Regions from separate parts of the Homo sapiens genome. Here region 2 is linked to region 1. Evidence: promoter capture Hi-C in human tissues and cell types (Jung and others, 2019). All regions are on one chromosome and are shown on one strand. Each heading gives the region's core, a stretch centred on a gene start or on the middle of the fragment in contact. The rest is flanking DNA. Distances are from core to core; before and after follow the strand shown.

Region 1 (6,509 bases), core at 1,042-3,541:
CCCTGCAGCCCAATTCCTACCTAGACTAACATGCTCAGGTGCACCTTGGAACAGCGCTGGAAGACCCCTTGCCCCTCCTGTGGGCTTAGTAACAATTTGGGGAACAGTTTTTGGCCTATCTGGCAAAATGTAAAAGGCCTTTGACGCAATGATTCCTCTTCCAGCCTTTCAGAAATATGTACATACAGGAATATGTACTACGTACATGAAGATATATGCAAAGGAATGTTTATTAAAGCTTATTTTATATTGGAGAGAAAAAGGAAGCAATCTACATGTCTGTCAATAGGGGACTGTTTGGATAAATAATGCTCCTTGTATCCATTCATGGGATATTTTAACTCTTAAAAGGAATGAAGTGGATTTATCTGTACCCACATAGACTGATCTCCAAGATTATTTTCTTTTATTTTAAGATGGAGTCTTGCTCTGTTGCCCAGGCTGGAGTGCAGTGGTGCAATCTTGGCTCACTGCCACTTCCGCCTCCTGGGTTCTGATTCTCCTGCCTCAGCCTCCTGAGTAGCTGGGACTACAGGCGCCCAACACCACGCCCTGCTAATTTTTTGTATTTTTAGCAGAGACGGAGTTTCACCACGTTGGCCAGGTTGGTCTCAAACTCCTGGCCTCAGGTGATCCACCCACCTCGGCCTACCAAAGTGCTGGGATTACAGGCGTGAGCCACTGCACCCAGCCAAGATTTAATGTTATGACTGAGATAAACATGAATGAAAGCAAATCTTCAAAATATCTATGACTTGATCTCATGTATATACATTTGTGTCTGAATATACATTAGGTAGATGGGGAATGCATAGACGTGGAACAGGCAGAGCCTACCAAGTTGAGGGGACTGGACCTGAATCATTGGACGGAGGGAATTCGTAACAGAAAAGACTTTCATGTTTTACTCTGTATACTTAATTACTTTATGCTCTACCGCAACAATAATGTATTGTATATGTTTTTGTGTGTGTGTGTGTTTTCTTAGTCTTAAATTCAAAATATAAGGTAGCCCACTGGCTCTAAGCTACAAGAATCCTTATGAGTTGGGCAGTTCTTTGACAACTTTTTTTCCCACCTGGCGAAACTATCAAGGAATGTCCTACCACCAAGCGTGAGAAATTTTTGGCATTCCTGAAATAAATTCTTCTTCTGAGCCAGCTCATGTGGGCATCATAATCTCCTTGAAGGCTTTTAAAAGATTTAGATCTGAGTCTGTCTCAGATTCTCGGGCTCAGAACCAGAATTTCTCCGTCTGAGGCTACTATCTTGCTCTGGAGGAGGGAGTGAGAACTGGATCACTGGTTAGCGTGGTAACTGTTTTGGACAATTGCATAGCCACAGCCAGGAACACAGAAGGCAGAGAGGCAGCCTTGATCTGCAAGAGCTCCAGGTAATCCCAACGGGGACCCTTGATGGACAAAGGCATTCTCCCAGGCTTGGTGATGAATGTGTTCCACTTACAGCCAGACGAGACACTCACTCAGGGCTCTGCAGCAGAGAAGTTAGAGCTACAGCTTTTTTGCTTTGTGTTTTTACTAAAACTTAATTTGTTGTTGCACTTGTTGGATGGGCATGTCCCATAGGGGAAGTTTCCACTACTGTGCTCTAAACTTTGGGCTGCTTGTACCATCTTACTTATCCCCTCATTAATAATGAATTGAATAAAATCTTTAGTATATGCTAATTTCATATCTTTGCGAGAGTTACGATTTTACCTTTTCTTTTTAAAATTACCTTTTCATATTTCTATCACTCCCTTACCAGAGCAGTGAGTTTCTGGGTCTCCCTCTTAGGGGCAGACACTGTTCCATGTAATTAGAATTAATTTCTTGTTCGTAGGTAGACAGAGAAAAGCTGCCAAACTCCCAGGAGACAGGGGTTCAGATCCTGTGCTATGGCTGAGAGTGATGCCGAGGAAGACACTTCCCTCCGAGTCTTAGTCTGCCCGCCTGTGAAACTGGCTCGTAACAAACCCCTGACCCCAGGCTCGGTCGCCTTGAGCCCAAGACCTCACCCAATGCCCCCCGCCCCGCCTTCCCTCCCGGGCTCCCAGGAGGTGCGGGGACTCGGGGGGCGGCCCCTTCCTCGGGAGGCGCCCAGGTGGCACGTCGGTGCCTCAGCTCCCGGGGTCTCTGGGCTCCGCGCTGCCCACGGGGTGCCGAGGGGCCTCTGGAGGGGGCGGGTTCTCTCGAGCCAGAAAGTCCGGAGCCGCCCAGGAATTTTGGCTCGAACTGAGTGCATTTCCTCTCGGGCCGGCCGGGTGCGATCCGGGAAGGGCGGCTGCGGGCAGACGCGGCGCTGCGCTCGGCCAGGCCGGCACCATGCGGCCCCTGCTCTGCGCGCTGACCGGACTGGCCCTGCTCCGCGCCGCGGGCTCTTTGGCCGGTGAGTGGGGCGCAGGGCGCGGCAGGGGACCTGGAGCCGGGGAGACCCGCAGATGGCGAGGAAGGAATGAGCGAGAGAGACGGAGAGAGAGCTGGACACAGCAGCGAGATGGACAGAGAGGCAGATGCAGGGAGGGAGGGATGGAGAGAAAGATTGAGAGGAAACAGACTCAGAAAAAGGCAGAGAAGTAGAGCAACGGAGAGATAAAGGAGATAGGGAAGAATACACAGTGAAAAGGAAAAAGGAGAGGCTGAGACAGAAAGAGGCTTCCCCTGAACAGATATGAACTAAGATAGAAAGAAAAAGGAGTTTGAGAGACAAAAGAGAAGAAGGAAAGAGAAAAAGTGATTAAAATGGCAAGGGGTGGAGGGAGAGAGGATATTGAAGAAAAGAGAAAGATTTGAGAGAGACCAAAAAGGAGAGAGAGGGAAGCTCGATGCCCGGAGTAGAGCTGGCAAGAGAGAAGGAGCCAGGATCTGGAGTGGGAGGTCACAGCTGCTGGGTGGGGCAGCCCCGGAGGCCAGCTCCATCTCAGAGGGCCTGTGGAGGCTCAGGCCTGGCTTTATAGGACATTGCATAAGAAGCCACACTCCAAAGGATGAGTGACCCAGGCTAGCCCAGCACAGCCTTAAGGAACCAGGCAGTCGGGCCCAGGAGAAAGGCCACCGATTCACCTGCCAGGTGGCCTCAGGTGGATCTGCAGTCAGTGAAGAAGTCAGCCTCCCGGTTTCCAGGGAGCTTCTCTGGGAAACTGAGCTATGTTGGGTGGAGATGGGGGACTGGGTGGAGGTGGAGAGCTGTGCGGAGGAGAGAGGCTGTCTGGGTACTCCATTAGCTGGGTTCCTTGCTTTTCACTGTCCGCTTTCTTCCCCTCACCTACCCCTCAGGCGGGCGGATCACAAGCTCAGGAGATCAAGACCAGCCTCGCTAACATGGTGAAATGCTGTCTCTATTAAAAATACAAAAAATTAATCGGGCGTGGTGGCACATGCCTGTAGTCCCAGCTACTCGGCAGGCTGAGGCAGGAGAATCACTTGAACCTGGGAGGCGGAGGTTGCAGTGAGCCGAGATCAAGCCACCGCAATCCAGCCTGGGTGACAGAGCAAGACTCAGTTTCAAAAAAAAAAAAAAAAGAAGAAGGAAAGGAGGAAAGTATTCATGTATTAGTGTAATTTCACACTGATTTCATATATTTTTGTGCATAATCTTTCAGATTTTAGATGATATATCTTAACTTTTGATTATGAAAACTTTTGGATACAAAAAAATACAAAGTAATAGTATGTGAAAGAATCATGTAATATACTTATCAACGCTGCTTCAAGAAGTATCAGTTCATGGGCAGTTTTATCTCATCTATAGCCTCCACCCTCTCTCCCCTCCCTGGATTATTTTAAAGGAAATCCAGGCATTGTATATTTTCTTTCTTTCTTTCTTTCTTTTTTTTTTTTTTTTGAGACAGGATTTCATTCTGTCACCCATGCTAGAATGCAGTGGCACAATCTCAGCTCACTGCAACCTCCGTCTCCCGGGTTCAACTGATTCTCCTGCCTCAGCCTCCTGAGTAGCTGGGACTACAGGCACGCACCACCACACCTGACTAATTTTGGTATTTTTAGTAGAGATAGGGTTTCACCATGTTGGCCAGGCTGGTCTCGAACTCCTGGGCTCAAGTGATCCACCTGCCTTGGCCTCCCAAAGTGCTGGGATTACAGGTGTGAGCCACAATGCCTGGCCTGGCATCATGTATTTTCATCTATAAATATTTCTTTGTGTACCTCTAAGAGATAAGCACTCTTAATAAACATAACTGCAATGCTATGATCATACTCCAAAAACTGTGTGTGATTGAATATCATTAAATATTCAATCACTGTTCAAATGTCCTTGATTGATTGTGTCATATCTTTTTGCAATTCATTTGTTTGATCCAAATAAGGTTACATACACTGCATTTGGTCAATATGTCTGTTAGATCTCTTTAAATATGTAAGTCTTCTCTCCCCTTTTTTTACTTAATTTTTTGTTTTTGTTGAAGAAACTAAGTTTGTCCTGTAAAGTTTTCCACATTTAGATTTTGCTAATTGCATCCCTTTTATGTCATTTAAATACCTCCACCCCTTATATTTTCTATAAATTGAGAGCTATCTCTAGCACGTCCAACTTCCAACCTTGGTTTGTTTGTTTGTTTATTTATTTATTTATTTATTTGAGATGGAGTCTCGCTCTGTCTCCCAGGCTGGAGTGCAGTGGTGCGATCTCCGCTCACTGCAAGCTCCGCCTCCCGGGTTCACACCATTCTCCTGCCTCAGCCTCCCAAGCAGCTGGGACTACGGACGGCTGCAACCATGCCCGGCTAAATTTTTTTTGTATTTTTAGTAGACATGAGGTTTCACTGTGTTAGCCAGGATGGTCTCGATCTCCTGACCTTGTGATTTGCCCGCCTCGGCCTCCCAAAGTGCTGGGATTACAGGTGTGAGCCACTGCGCCCGGCCTTTTTTTTTTTTTTTTTTTTTTGAGACAGAGTCTTGTTTTGTCATCCAGGCTGGAGTGCAGTGGTGCGATCTCAGCTCATCACAACCTCTGCCTCCTGGGTTCAAGCAATTCTCGTGCCTCAGTCTCCCAAGTAGCTGGGATTACAGGTGTGCACCACCACACCCAGCTAATTTTTGCATTTTTTAGTAGAGACGGGGGCTGCGGGGGAGTTTCACCATGTTGGCTAGGCTGGTCTCAAACTCCTGACATCAAGTGATCAGCCTGCCCCGGCCTCCCAAAGTGCTGGGATTACAGGCATGAGCCACCGCGCTGGGCCCAAGTCTTGGTTTCTTTTAGCAGCACTCAGAGAAACCTTTATCCCTGATGGCTTTTTAGACCATGAGCCACCACGCCCGGCCCATATTTTGGAGTTTTTTATAAAATCACTTGAAGAATAGTTTTCTGCTGCTTTCAAAAATGATCAAAACCCGTGGATGGTTTTGAGTGAATCATACATTTTAATACAAATATTGGATGTGGTAAATTTATTATTCTATTATGTTGAATGTGGTCAAATATAATTAACCCCCAAGTGGCCAGGGTTGCTTTTCAAAGCAGAGTGTGACTTTGACAATTCAGAAGATACAGCGGCACCTTTCAGATGCCACTGAGAAAACATTTCTCAACCCCCAGCATGCAGAAATCATCTGTGTTGTGGCCCTTTCTTACTGTTTGGGTCCAGATACAAAAGGTCTCCCCATAAGGCCTGTAAGTAGAAGCACCCGTACTTCCGCCTCAGAGGATGGGACCCAGGGGCCACGTCTCTTTAACTGGGGCAGCCAGCCCAGCCGAGCCCTCCTCTGGGGCCTCCGGGCTCCACAGCAGCGTGTTCTCACCAGCACAGGATGCCCCACCCATGGCCACCATCCAGGGTGCACATCAGGCCCCTAGCAGGAGCCGGGCCAGAGAAAACAACGCAGCATCCAAGGAGGTCCATTTCCCAACTGGCAGGGCCTGGGAGAGCGGGAGGAAAGGAAGGAAGGGAGCCCTGAGGAGCCACAGCCTTGGCTGCTCAGGGTTAATCATCATAATCCTTCAGTCTTTTCCACTCCCCTTGTCTGAGCCACTGACAGCCCTGTGGTGCATGTGCGTGTCTACTATTTTTTATTCATTTATTTATTTTCTTACAAGACACAGTCTTTCACTGTCACCCTGGCTGCAGTGCAGTGGTGCAATCGTAGCTGACTGTAGTCTCAAACTCCTGGGCTCAAGCGATTCTCCCGCCTCAGCTTTCCAAATACCTGAGACTACAAGTATATACCACCAATCCTGGCTAATTTTTTTTTAATTTTTATTTTATTTATTTATTTATTTATTTATTTATTTATTTTTGTAGAGACAGAGTCTCACTATGTTGCCCAGAGTGACCTCAAACTTCTGGCTTCAAGCGATCCTCTTGCCTCAGCCTCCTAAAGCTCTGGGATTACAGGTGTGAACCACCGAGCCCAGCTCGTCTAGCTAATTCTTGAGGCCTCTCTGCAGCCTCCAAAAGACAGAAGAATTAAGGATGCGCTACACGGGGGAGTCAGGGCCTCAGGCCTACCCTACCCCATTTTATGTAAGAGGCAGCAGAGGCTCAGGGAGCA
Region 2 (6,509 bases), core at 2,077-4,576, 110 kb after region 1:
AATCAAAGAATCTATTGTTTCTTTTGAGGCTATGAAGGAGGAAATGTGTTGAGAATCTTTGTTGGAATTGTTTCCCCTTTACCTGGCTGCATTTTCATAGATCAGTTAAACTCTCTTTCCCTACCTCACCTTTGAAGACTTGGATACATTTTCCTCATTGCATTTTCTACTTTCACCCTTGCTCATGGCTATCGACTGTCAGAACCGAAGCTTTTACTGGCCCCATTGGACCTAATCTAGGTAGGAGCCCACTACTGATAACCTACAACCAGATAGTTGTCAGGTGTGACAAGAGTGCCCAAGATGGGGGATGAGTTCCTGGTCAATGACAAGATGGCCTTTATCCTTCTTGTACATTTGATCCACATCTTTAACCATTGTGCCCAGAGCTCCTACTCCTTTTCAGACAGAGGCTCCTCAGGGACAGTGCATCCCTCCCAGGAGCCCAGGCTGTACTCACCTCCACTGTGAGGCTGAAGACAAAAGTGCTACAGAGGTCAAAGGCTGCTTTCTAAAGAGGTTTTATTTGCACAAAACTGAGTCTTGGTGTGTGGATTGGTCTGAATTACATTTTGAATTTATTTTCTCCCCCAATACTTGTAAATCTAGTGCTTGTAAAATAGTATGTGTGCCTTTTGTGGTGGTGGCCATACATTCCAGAACATTTATATTGTTTTCCATGCAGATTTCCAAGGTTGCTACTGATTGCTTTAGGTGCAATGCTCTAAAATATGAAGGTGAACTCTTGTTACTGGTTATTTGGTGGGCTTTTTTTGATGGGGAGGATGGAGTCTCGCTCTGTCGCTAGGCTGGAGTGCAGTGGAGCCATCTCGGCTCACTGCAACTTTCGCCTCCCGGGTTCAAGTGATTCTCCTGCCTCAGTCTCCCTAGTAGCTGGGACTACAGGTGTATGCCATCATGCTCAGCTAATTTTTGTATTTTTAGTACAGACGGGGTTTCACCATGTTGGCCAGGATGGTCTCGATCTATTGACCTCGTGATCCTCCCGCCTCGGCCTCCCAAAGTGCTGGGATTACAGGCGTGAGCTACTGTGCCTGGCCGGTGTTGTATTTTTAACTAAATTCAATTCTCACAGTTTTAATCATAATTCCAAAAAGACTTTGTTATGCAAATTCTTTTTGACTTTGAAAATCTGACATGACGTGCGCTGTGTCAGCAGCAAAGTGAACACTGATTTTAGAAACTTGGGCTAAACAACCATCTGTGATTATTTTTGTTGGAATATAACCCAGGTATTATTATTATAGCAGCTGTCCACTCTCGGTTTTGCATAGATATAAACATATCTTTATGTCATATTTTCATCTATAACTTTAAGACTTTTTTCTTATATTTTTCTCATTCTTCCATCATACAGTGTGGACTCTTTTTTTATATATTACAAATAATGTAACACAAATTTCTAAATATTTATTTATTTATTGTTTTGAGACGGAGTTTCCTCTTGTTGCCCAGGCTGGAGTGCAGCTGGGTGGTCTTGGCTCACCACAACCTGTGCCTCCTGGGTTCAAGCGATTCTTCTTCCTCAGCCTCCTCAGCCTCCCAATTAGCTGGGATTACAGGCACCTGCCACCATACCCAGAGAATTTTTGTTTTAGTAGAGATGGGGTTTCTCCATGTTGGCCAGGCTGGTCACAAACTCTTGACCTCAGGTAATCCACCTGCCTCAGCCTCCCAAAGTGCTGAGATTACAGGCATGAGCCACTGCACCCACCCTCCACCTTGGTTATTTTTAAGCACTAAAATTTGATACTTATTTCTGAATGAAGTCATCTCTTAATTGTATTTTTTTACTTATATTCTTTAAATTGCAAAGATTCATGTAATTCAAGAAAGAAGTGGGATCCAGAGAGATTCCTTTATCATGTGATACATGACAAATACATTCAATGTTATATTTCAATCTAAAAAATAAGTAAATGACTTTAAAGATAATCACTTTATACCTAGTTTGTCCAACCCATGGGTGGCAGAGTGTATTCAACCCGGGACAGCTTTTCTGAATGCAGCCCAACACAAATTTCTAAACTTTCTTCAAACATTCTGAGATTTTTTTGTGATTTTTTTTCCTCATCAGTTATTGTTAGTGTACTTTATGTGTGGCACAAGACAATTCTCCTTCTAATATAGCCCAGGGAAGCCAAAAGACTGGACATGCCTGCTTCAGACCAAGAAAAAAGACAGCCCACATTTGCACGCCTAAATACACTACCATCCATGCAAGAAACATGAGACTGGAAATTTCCAATCTTTCCTGAAGCAGTGGAATTGCCCGGGGATATCTGAGGGGTGTGGTTACTTCTTGGAGGAGGTTAAGGGTTTCTAAGGATGATCCTTTGTAACTGAAATATTGTAAATGTCATTGAGCCTTCTCATTATGTCAACTAGTAGTATTCCATATCGTCAATTTTCTGCCTGGGCATTTTCATCCCGGGCCTGACTTTTTTGGAATTCCTTGGATGCTTATCATTATTGTTGTGTCCCTGGGAATTTACAAACTTGCCATTTTCTTCTGCAAAACTAGCCTTGGTGTGAGTACACTAACTTTCCCTAGAGGTGGACTTGTAATCACAAATAAGAAATTATTTAAAACAATTTGTGGTTCTGGACTTCATTATGAATATTGGGTTTTATTTAAAAAATCAGGAAATGATTTATTAGCATAAGAATTATGAAAAATCTGCCATTTAAATTATGGCAGATTTTTTAAATTTTTTTAAATTTTTAATTCAACCTATTTAATTAAAAAATTAAATAGGTTTGTGTTTGTTTAATAGAATGTCAACAGAGCTTTTGGTCAAAAATACGTTTTTTTAAGCCCTCTGCTCTTTATCAAAAACTGAAGTATAAAGTTTCAGCACTTAAATAAGAAATTCTTTCTAAACTTTTCTGCTTTATAGTTCTATTGTATGGGTGGAAGGAAAGCTTCCACTCTCCTCTCTAAAGGTTCACTGCAGCAATGTACTAACAACAGACAGCTTAACAGGAGAAGGAAAACATAGAACCTTATTAACAGGCATAAACATGGGAGCCAGCCAAAAAATGAGACTGCAAGAAGGGCCAGATGATTGATGCTTAATGAGCACCCTCTTCTCAGGGAAAAGGGAGATGGAGATGAAGGCAGGGCAGCAAATGATTATTAGGGGAAATGAAAGAGCCCAAGGAACAAACAGCTGGCCTGAGACAAAGTTCCTCTGAGATCATGAGGAAGAGGCGACAAACTGCAGGAAGGTCAAGGGCAGAACTGCACTGTGTCTCATGATGCAGAGAAAGCCCCAGAGAATCTCTTGGAACTGCCCTCCGAAGAATCAATGAAAAGTGTGTCTGGGCAGAGTAATGAGTGGTCATTTCAAATGGCATCATTCAAAGTACATGTTCTCGGTTGCCACTGGAGAGGGATCGGTATGTCAAAAGTCTGTACTGGTTAAGAATGTGGCTGCTAAATTGTGCCATAATTTGGCTTTTGAGCATTTTTGTCCATTGAGTAAATCGAGCTCTACGTTTTCTCTTGCTGTTCATGACAGTAAAAGTTTGGGTGTCTAGGGGCTTAAACATCTTCTGAACAATGATCCAAGAAAAAAGTGCTAACACCACAATGCTTTTTTATCCTCAAGGGAAGGGGGAGTATGTTTTATTTTTACAACCTAGATAATTACACATCATTTGGCACTGCCCTTCAACATACGTAGAAAACAGAAAATATATGAGTTCTGAAGATATCTAGGCACATTGAACAGTCTCTACTCAACTTAGTCCTGAAGAGAGAATTTTTGATGTGAACTGGGGGAAGTTTTTTAATGTACCACTTTTTAAATATTCCATTAAGAAAAGTTCAGTTGAGCTGTTTGACTTGAACCACTTTGCACCTTCTCATCTTTCTCCTTGTTATCTACTCCTCTATCCCATTATCTCACAAACCAGGACATCGTGAGTGCCATGAAATGTTCATGCCTCACGGTTTTTCTTTGCTTCTCATTTCTTCATGTGTTTGACATTTCTCCTAGCTGCAAACTGGGCCAGCTGCTTTCCCCATAAAATCTAGCGGTAGCTGTGGGGCGCATGCGGTTGCTCTTTCATCTTTTTAGATCACCCATTGCTTCTATCGAAATCCTAGTACATGTTTTTTTGGGTTTTTTTTTCTATCCTATGTGAAGAAATCAGAAAAAAAAGCATTCTACACAGAACTTTAAAGATGTTATTTCATTGAATACATCAGGAATTTCAGAGGTATATGACGTACATTTGCAACAGGATTTGCATTGCATATTAGCCAAGAAGAGAACAAATATTTCATGTCTTAGAAGATTCAACTCATATGCGGTCTATATGGAATTCTTTGTGGGAATTCAGTCATTACTGAGAATGTTTTGTGTTAGGTTCCAACCAGCCTCAGTGAAGCTGGTGTCAGGGAAGGGAAAGTGGGCTCTGAGTAGAGCATGGATGGAAAAAAGATGCTCCACAGAAGATCAGGAAGGAGCAGGGGGTGAAATGTTACAAATTCTTGAACTCAGAGAACTGAAGGTAGTTGCTTTCCTTTCAACCTGTGAAACATTTTAACCTGCGGTAAAATATGTATAACGTGATAATTACCATCTTAACCTTGTTGAAATGTACAGTTCAGTTGTGTGAAATATATTCACATCATTGTTCAATTATTGTTTTCTAGATGTCTTATCTCAAGTCTGTCTTACAGTCACAAAATGTCAATGACAGAACACGGATTTACAGGGGAAAGCCTGCAGGTCCAATAGCCGTAGCCAGGAAGGTATGCTATCTGTCAGAGTCCCCATAGTGTGGAAATGAGTTTGCCCTTTTAAGGGAAAGAACAGCTTCTGGCCCTCAGGTTTCTCCCCGTCTCCTCTCTACACCCTAACCAAGGGCTCAGGTCCACTTATATGCACACGAATAGAAGGATTTTATCCTTTGCAGGAATTAAAATGGACCCAAAATACCTCTTTACATTATGGAGATCTACAGAAGCTAAAGTGCAAGCCAAAGTCCAAAAGGTGATGATGAAGGTCAACAGTCATTGCGAAATCTCTGGGCAAAGAAAGACTGCCGAGGAAGAGTAAGATGTTCACTGACACAAACACTGTTGTATGAACCATGTGCCAACCAAAGTAGACAACTGCAATGTCCCCGAGAATATTTTCCACAATATTTGTGGCAAATTCAGTGGGTGCAAAACTGAGCTTGTCCTTCCTGCTTGATTAATCTTCGTGTTTCCTTTCCCTTCCTACATTCTTGATTGTAATGTTTTAGGGGCAAGCGGAGGTCCAGGTACTGGCATTGTTAAATTCAATGCTTGGGTCACCTCGGGATTCATTTTCACAGTCTTTTAGCTTTTGGTCATATGACATTGTATTTTTCCTGCCACATGACTAGTCTTTTTGGCTAAATGTAAGACACTCGTTAAAAATATTTAGCAATGAATTGAGGCCGACTAGCATGTTATCTTGCTGCAGAAAAGATGGGAGTCTATTTCTGGGGAATGGGCAGGGGTCCTAGCACACCTAGACACCCTCCATACCATCCGCAATTGAGGTTATCAGTGAGGTTCAGTCCCTACAAAAGTCAGGGTGTTTCCTGTCCACCTCTATTCCTGGCGTGTGACTCTTCTGGGTCCCAACCAAAGCCAGTGGACTTCAGTAGGGGTCACCGTCACTAGCAGACCCTCAGTCTACTTGTTTTCCATCTAGTCCTCCACATGGTGCAAAAGCTGCTCTGCTTCTTTACATCTCAGTTAGTCCCTTCTGAAATTCAGTGATGAAACTGAGGGAAATGAGCCCCAAATGTGAGGCTGACCTTCGTCCTGGGTTCCTTCTTCTCCATCTTGGCCTCATGTCTCTTTATTGCCATTTTAGCAATTTGGTGCTTTCAGTCATGGGTTTTAGATTCTGCCCCATGTCCCCATTGCTCTCATGGGAGATCAGAAGCTTCACATGCACTCATGTCTACTCCAGAGCAGAATGCTTCCTTAGCTTCCCTCCAGGCTCAGGTTTTGTGTTTCTAGTTCCCAAGTTCACAGCAGGAGTAGTGATGTCCTCACTGGCTTCTCATTTGCGTTAAACTGTGAACTCCTTTAGGGTGGGGACAGGACCCTGCTCCCATTGCATCCTCTGCACCTCACAAGACACTCCTTGCTTCAGGCCACTCCAGACACCGTGTGCTGAAGGGTGCCCTGGGTGGTCAGAAACAAGTGCATGAACTTTCTCTTTGAAGTGTTTTTGTCCCTGTTTCCTAGAGTTCTTGGCATTTTACACGTCTTTCTTTCTTTCTTTTTTTTTCATATTAAACTTGTAGTTTTATTCAGGTTTGATTTTAACAAATGTGTCGGGGAGAGAGCCCTCAGGGAAGGGTAAAGCCCATGGGGGCAGGGCCTTCCCAGATGCCTGAGGAGGGGGCAGGTCCCCTCCCCTCTCCTCCTCTTCCCTCCCCATCTAAAGGGGTTTGGGGAGAGACACAGGCAGGCGAGGGGGCTGGTCCCC

The links. The method cuts DNA at HindIII sites, captures the fragments that hold promoters and counts their contacts. A contact is called where the count stands out against the background at its distance.
Region 2: a fragment that was not itself captured here is called in contact with the fragment with the promoter of PLAC9 in region 1 in 2 of the 25 tissues and cell types used here (bladder and spleen).

Annotation. Positions count from the first base shown.
Region 1 is chr10:80,130,439-80,136,947 of GRCh38, forward strand. It overlaps PLAC9 (placenta associated 9), which reads left to right and starts at 2,292. Exons shown (of 4, transcript NM_001012973.3): 1 at 2,292-2,388. The coding sequence starts at 2,325. The HindIII fragment of the contact is 8,390 bases long and covers 1-6,509 here.
Region 2 is chr10:80,240,270-80,246,778 of GRCh38, forward strand. No RefSeq gene overlaps it. Among named protein-coding and RNA genes, the nearest start is that of LINC00857, 36 kb to the left of the region's middle. The HindIII fragment of the contact is 7,440 bases long and covers 1-6,509 here.